Regions from separate parts of the Homo sapiens genome. Here region 1 is linked to region 2. Evidence: promoter capture Hi-C in human tissues and cell types (Jung and others, 2019). All regions are on one chromosome and are shown on one strand. Each heading gives the region's core, a stretch centred on a gene start or on the middle of the fragment in contact. The rest is flanking DNA. Distances are from core to core; before and after follow the strand shown.

Region 1 (3,622 bases), core at 390-2,889, 90 kb before region 2:
ATATGTATACATGTGCCATGCTGGTGCACTGCACCCACCAACTCGTCATCTAGCATTAGGTATTTTATCCTGAGTTTTATAAAAAATACAATGTGAACTTAACCAATAATGTAATACAATTTTAAAGGTGTTTATCTTATTGGTTATTACATGTATTAATAATTGACTGATATTTAAAAATTATGTCAGCCAGGCACAGTGGCTCTTGCCTGTAAATCCAGCAATTTGGGAGGCTGAGGTGGGTGGATCAAGAGGTCAGGAGTTTGAGACCAGTCTGACCAACATGGTGAAACCCTGTCTCTACTAAATATACAAAAAATTAGCCGGGTGTGGTGGCGGGCACCTATAATCTCAGCTACTCAGGAGGCTGAGGCACAAGAATCGCTTGAACCCAGGAGGTGGAGGTTGCAGTGAGCCGAGATTGTGTCACTGCACTCTAGCCTAGACTACAGAGCATGACTCCATCTCAAAATACATATATACACACAAACACACACACATATATATAAAATATATACATATATATAATATGTGTATATATGATATATACATTGTATATATATGTATATGTATTTTATATATACACCAAAAATGTAAATGACAAATAAACCAACACAGAGTTTATGCATAAATACTATGTACATTTAATTAATGTATTTGGCAAGAATGGCATTTACATTTAGTTTTACCAAAACATGCATTTAGATATATTTGTTTATTGGCATTGGGATAGAGAAACAATCACATAGAAAAACATTATTTTGCACTACATCATAGTGTAAAACAAAATAATTTCAATTAAATTCAATAACTATAACAGTAGTAAATAAATTCAGGTTTTGTTTTGGTATTTGATGTGTTCATTTTTGTATTTCCCTATGTACCTGTAAGTACTGGGCATATGTGTGTATGTGTATGTGTATGTGTGATTATGAAGTTCTGAAATATATTATTAACCTGTATAGTTGTGTAAATTGAAGAGCAGAGACTGGGGCTATGCCTGAGTCTGGGGTAGTGGCTGGTCCTGCACACCTCAAAGCCTGTGGAGAAGCCAAGTGCAGTTTTACAAACTCAGCTGTTTTCTCATTCAAGTGGGGTGACCTCCACTGCCTCCGATTTCTGCTAAGATACTGTGGGGGTCTGTGAGATATTAAGATATTTTTCCATTATTGTATTTTTTTCTATTTCACCCTTTATATCTCTTAAAGTTTGCTTAATGCAGATATATTTTTAAAAATGTTAAAAAGATGTAAAATATATTGCTAAGTGATTTTCATGGCACAATCACATATTAAGTAATTATGCTTCTCTAAACTCTTTTGTTGCCACTAAACTCCAGGAGTCTCACATCTGCTCTGGGCCCTGTCCTATCCTAAGGCATCCCACCTTAGAGCTTGCTATGTAGTAGGAGACATTCCAATTGGGTTCTCCTTCTACTGATAAAAAACAGCCCAGTTCTGGTCCTGCATCTCTGGGAGAGGAGTACCAGCCCTGGGATTTCCAGGTGTTTCCACTTGGTAATCAGTACTGAACACAAGATTCAGTATGGGCTTTAAGCTATACTAGATTTTTCTTGTTGCTATTTTAAAAGCTTATTCATGGAGAATTAGAGATAGTGAGTATAAGTGGATGTGAGTGAGAGGAACAGTGGATACATTTGGCAGTTTCTAACCATGCCTATGTATGTGAAGGTGTCAAGTGAGGTTCAGCTGGTGGAGTCTGGAGAAGGCCTGAGACAGCCTGAGGGTTTTGAGAGTCTTCTGTGCAGCCCGTGGATTCAAATTTAGTAGCTACTGAATGAGAAGCTACTGAATTAGCTGAGTCCACCAGGCTTCAGAGAAGGTGCTGGAGTGAGCAGTAAATACGAAGTATGATGAATCAGTTATACCATTCAAAATCTGTGAAGGACAGATTCACCATTTCCAAAGACAATGCCAAGAACTCACTGTACCTGTGAATGAACAGTCAGAGCTGAGAACATGGCCTCGTATTATTGTACATAAGGTACCAAGTGAGGGAACACCAGTGTCAGCCAAAACGCAAAATATCCTGCAGAGAGAAGGAAGGAGCCTGGGCTGCAGAGGGCACTCACTCCCACAGAAGTTAGGGGCATCCCCAGGGCAGGTGCAGTTGAAGGTCAAGGGCCGCTTTCCTTCAGGGTCTGTGGCTTCCTCTCCATCGAACAGTTTCCCTGGGAGCCTCTCTATATTTGTGTTTCTGTGCCTACCACTGAGGTCTCTAGATTAGAAAAGTTTATTTAAAAAATTTCTTATTTGTCCCAAAGTGAGATGTAAGTAAGGCAGGCAGAAAAACACACAGGAGGCTGGGTGAGGCTGTAGACACTGTCAGGCCAGGATGCCAGTCTTACAACTAGTGATGGGGAAATGTGGGAGTTTGGTGGTGCTTCCTAGTTAACCTGTGGAGCAAGTTAAGTCCGGCAAGGCTGTTGATGACTTCCTGATTACAGATGCCCATCAGGAATCTCCGATGAGTCCCAGGAGCAGCCATAGCTTAACATCTCCCCTGTGCACAACCATTTTTTTGGGAGGAGCTCCCAGGGTTAATGCTCTTGGCACAAACCAGGTGATATATGTCAGAGAGCAGAAGCTGGTTTCCTGTGTAAACATCAATTTCTGAATCAGTGTTTTAAATATTTTGAAACACAGCCACTAGATCATATTTCAACTCTTTTATCTCTGTTAAAAAAAAAGTCAAAATGTATTTCATTTTGTGCATGCACCATTTGGGATTCCCAACATAAATGCAAATTAGTTCTTGTTTTTTCACATTCTTACGGCCATTTTTCACCATGAGGATTGTGCATTTTAACCATTCTAATAGGTGAGCAATGGAATCTAATTTTTGTTTCAATGCTCATATCCCTAATGAAAAATTTATATTTAACAATTTTTATATAATGTTGTTGAGTTTACTTGCATATTCATTATAGAAATCAATTCTTTTAATTCTTTACTGAATTAAAAGAAATTATTTAACAAAAATGCTACTTGAAAATATTTTCTCCAAGTCTGTGATTTGTCTTTTTAGTTGCTTATCAGTGTTTATTGCAGAAAAATGTGTGTTTGCAAATTTGGATACATTACCATGAATAATTGTATTCACTCACAGACCATGTTTTTGGCATTATTTCTAAAAACTGGTTATAAAATAAACTAGCAGTGATTTTTTTTCCCATCTCTATAATCTCAGACCACAATCAACACGAGTGTTTAAACCTCACCTACATGATGAGAATACTATCAGCCTAAAATATTTTGAATAACTCTGTAAGGAAGATTCGTCCTTCTTTTCACATTTTATTTACTCATCTATTATAATAGTATTGGCTTAAAGATGCTTATTTTATACTATGAGGAAGATCCATGCTTCATTATTTATGCTTTTGCTCAAATCATCACAGTTTTTTTTATGTGCTTGGAGTTCATTTAATTTGGATCCTGTATCCTTACATGACATCTCCTCCTTTTGTTTTTGAACACTTCCCTATTTTCTGGTATTATAAGAAATCCTAAGCTTATTTTCCGTATTATCTTTTCCATACATAGAATCTGCTGTTTTTCTGAAGATTACTGGCTTCTGGTGTTGAAGAATGGTATTAAAA
Region 2 (3,866 bases), core at 755-3,254:
TGAGCAACCACAAGGAGTTGAATGCCGGGCCTGAGCTCTGACTGTGTAAGTTCTGCTCTCTCACTGGGTTTATCTTGGGCTTTTGGGCATTCTCCTTGGTGCGTTGTAAGTGGGGTGTTTTCCTCCAGGGCCTTCTGTGGGCTGCTGGGAAGGTCCCTCAGCGGCAGTTCCCACGCCCCAGGCTTCAGGAGTCATCGCTGCTGCTCACTCAGTGCACCTGGGAACGTTGGCCTGCCCTTGGCCTCTGGACAGCCCCTGAGGACCCAAACTCTGGGGGCCCAGATGCCCGCCCAGGCTGCCCCTCAGGGCTCTGTGCTGGGAAAGGCCATCTTCACACCAAGAACAGGAGAAGGACCCTGTGTTTCTTCTTATTGCCTGGCCAGTTTAATTTGCTGTGTGTAGGAACAAGCCTTTTCTCTGTGATTGGGGTCTTTGCCTCAACCACTGGGTACTTCCTTGTGTGCCAGGGCCCGGGTCCTGCGCCCCTCTATCCCTGGGTTTGCCTCTCCGTGCACTGTCAGTGTCTCCATCAGTTGGCAGGTGCCCTTGTTGCGGGCAGAGAGTTTGCGGGAGCTGCAGGAGTTCTTGAGGCACTGAGAGAGTGCAGGGGGAAGGGCCTGCAGAAGGGTAAAGAAGGGAGGAGGGAAGGCATGAGGGGAGGGAGGGACTCAAGGGTTCTTGCCTGAGCTTGGGGTATGGCAGGAGACCAGCTGCCCCCACCCCACATCTTTCACGAATGTCTACAGGCCTGTAGTGGTTCTCAGGGAGGCCCCAGGCTCTGAGAGGTCAGAGAATTCTCCAGAGCCAGCATCTGGGCCAGGACTGAGTTACTCTCTCACCCTGTGGGGCTGCCCCACAGACAAGCTGGGGTGGATTGGGAAGTTATAGGGGACATGGAGGAGAGGGGACCTGTGGGTGCAGATCTTTGTGTCCCCGGCTCTGTATAGGATGAATGGGAGCAGTGGCTCCCAGCCCACCCCACCTTACCTGTCCACACCTGCAGTGCTGGCCCAGACCTGGGTTTCCACCTTGGGAGCAACTGTCCCAGCGAGGGAGGGTCTCTGGGGAGGTGCCTTGTGGCTTAGCCCAGGGAGCCCAGGGTCAGGATGACTGTGCCAGGACTCAAAGGGATTAGAGGAGGAGAGGAGAAACAGCTGCTTGGAAGTCAGGGGTCTTCTGGGGCAAAGCTGCCTCCTGTCACTAAGGGGCCAGATTTCGGGACTCAGGGGTCTCACGTGCAGAGGGCTGGGCTCCCGCGTGCTTGCAGCAGCCACGTGGCTTGTCCACATGAACTGCGGGGGGGGGGGCTCCTCCTCTCTGCGCCCACAAATCCCGGCCACCCAAGGGTGCTGGCACCTTCAGCAGCTCCGTTTCCACATGGTCGCGCACGAGGTTGGGGTGCTCGCGGCGCTCACGGCACTGCAGGTTGTCAGTGGTGATGGAGAAGGGCACCTCTGTGGCGTCCAGGGCGCGCTCCAGCCGTTGCTTCTGGGCCAGGAGCAAGTTGGTCTCCGCAGCCAGCGCCTCCATCTCACGCTGCAGCTCCGACTTCCAGCTGTGCGTGTCCTGCAGTCGCTCGCCCACTGTGCGCGTGGAGTCTTGCTGCGTGCGCTGCGCCAGCGCCTGGGTCTCTGTGGCCAGCTGCTGGCTCTCGTGCCGCTGCCGCTCCGACTGGTCGCGGTCGGCGAAGGCCTGGTGGTAGCGAGCATAGCAGTTCTGGAACCACTCCTCCAGCAGGTACTTGGAGGTGCGGAAGCTGGCGGTGGCCAGGCCGGAGGACGTGTAGGCGCCCGTGTTACGGGCCACGTCGTACTCTTTGCAGGGCAGCTCGCAGGGCGGCACTGTCTGCGCCATGGTGCCTGCCGCCCACCAGGGCCAGGGGAGTGAGGACTGTGTGTGGTCAGCCGGTTGCGGTCAGCCTAGTGCGGTCAGCGGGGCAGCTCCAACGGCTCAGTCCCAGAGCAGGACGCGGCTCCCAGTCGCTTGGGTGACACTGTGTAAACCAAGAGCTTCCTGTTGCCAAGAAACGGGATCTCTTCTCCAGTAGCTAGGGGAGGGGCATTCAGGGTGGTGGGCAGAACTGCCCTCTTAAAGGGCCAGGCAGCCCCAGCCCCACCATCCCTGTCCCCGCCTCGGGGCAATCAACAGTGGCCAAGGGTTCCTGTCACTTAGAGGATCCTGGGGCCAGCCCGTCTCCAGCCTCTGAGTCCCACCCTTAGGGTTCAGGGTGTGGGTGGGGACCTACTGCCCTGGCCCCTTCCTTGGTTCATCCATTTGTTCCTGGTTTGCGCTCTGATCCTGTCCTGTGCGGAGCTCCGCGCTCAGGGTGAACAAGACAGGAGACTCTGCTCAGTTGCAGCCACCTCAGGGCAGAGGGCTGTGGCTGTCGTGTGGGTGTTGGGTGTGCTGACTGATAGTGTTACTTGATGCCGTACAGGTGGCTGCTCTCCCTGCCCTCCTGGCCCCAACAGCAGCCTGGTAGCACAGGGAGGGTTCCAGGCCAGGTCCCCTCGGGGGCAGTCTGAGGCAGTTCCTGCAGGAACTCTGCTCCATTTTCTCCTGCACCTAGTGCCTGAGAGCCAGGCCCTGGCCTCTGGCCTTCTCCTCCCAAGTCCAAGCCAGGGTCCCCTCAGGCTGGGCACAGCGGGGAGGGAGTCTGAGTGTGCTCTTCGCTGGGGAGTTGAATTCAGCCTCTGGGTAAGTGTCCAGAGTCAGACGCCCAAATCTGCCCCACAGGGCGGAGGCAGGTCCTGTGCTGCGGAGGCTGCCCTCAAAGCCATTCAGGGCCAGGCTGCCTGGCGGAGGCTGGATGGGCAGGAAGCGCCCCAGGACACATCGGAGTCCCCCTAACCTGGGGCCAGGGGAGCCCCAGCCTAGGCGCGATTCCCCACACGGCCAGCGGAGGGCGACGTTGGTCTGGCACTGAGAAGCCTGCGGCTCCTGGCTCGGCCTCCCCTCCGTCTGCCTGGCGCATGCAGTCCTGGGGACCCCCAGCCCCTCCGGCCTCCTCTTCTCTGAGAGCCCCCCACCAGAAAGTCCTCACTAGGAAGTCCATACCCTTCCTACAGCACAGACCTCTGGGCCCCTGTTCTCTCCACCTTCACCCCCTCTCCCACCACAGCCCACACCCTCACTCCAGCCACAGGAGCCGGAGCTCCTCCTGGGCCATTCCCACCACCCCGCCCAGGGTCTCTCCAGCCCCACCATGTGCCGGCCAGTGCCCTCCTCCTGGACCTGACCTCCCCCCGTCCTGGCCTCTCCCGCGGCCAGAACCCTCAGTCCATGCTGCTGTCACCACGGTGCGCCTGGCCTGACACAGCCTCCTGATGGGGCTTTTGAGGACAGCAGCCCGGAGACTTACCCTAACCCAGGCCGAGTCAGAACCTGTGGCAGGCGGCCTGGGAACCTCTTCTTACTGTCCATCAAAATTGGGAGGTCAGGGGACCTTCAGGGACTGGTGTGGTCTGAGAAACATCCTCGAGCCTCGCCATGACTCAGTTTCCCCAGATGGCAGCAGGCTGGAGCCCACACGCAGGGCAGGATGCCAGGCTCCACCTTTTGTCTGGAACCTGCATTCACTGGGCACCTCTCTTTAGGCAGAGCAGAGCAGAGCTGCCCGTGTTTGTCCCCTGATCTGTGGCCCCAGGAGCCCGAGAGACCACCTGAGCCAACGAGAAGGCCTCTGGGCCAGAGCCCAGCTCTGCGAAGTGGGAGACTTCTCAGCCTCCACTTCCAGGTGCCCTGAAGTCGTTGGCAGGGGGTGCTGCCTGCTTGGGGCTCCCAGACTAAGGGAACACATTCATGTGGTGACCACGATAGGCCCTGCAGGCTGAGGCACAGGATTTGACCAAGGACGCATCAGAGAT

Evidence for each region. The method cuts DNA at HindIII sites, captures the fragments that hold promoters and counts their contacts. A contact is called where the count stands out against the background at its distance.
Region 1: a contact is called between a fragment that was not itself captured here and the fragment with the promoter of TEKT4 in region 2, in 3 of the 25 tissues and cell types used here (dorsolateral prefrontal cortex, lymphoblastoid cells and mesendoderm cells).

What each region holds. Positions count from the first base shown.
Region 1 is chr2:94,959,425-94,963,046 of GRCh38, reverse strand. LOC105373487 (a long non-coding RNA gene) reads right to left here. Exons shown (of 3, transcript XR_923074.3): 3 at 621-3,622. Among named protein-coding and RNA genes, the nearest start is that of MAL, 64 kb to the left of the region's middle. The HindIII fragment of the contact is 6,517 bases long and covers 1-3,622 here.
Region 2 is chr2:94,869,568-94,873,433 of GRCh38, reverse strand. TEKT4 (tektin 4) reads right to left here and starts at 2,004. Exons shown (of 6, transcript NM_144705.4): 1 at 1,357-2,004. The coding sequence starts at 1,854. It overlaps LOC442028 (a long non-coding RNA gene), which reads left to right. Exons shown (of 10, transcript NR_037597.1): 9 at 1-45; 10 at 2,737-3,866. RefSeq lists enhancers at 1,667-2,180, 2,694-3,207. The HindIII fragment of the contact is 10,124 bases long and covers 1-3,866 here.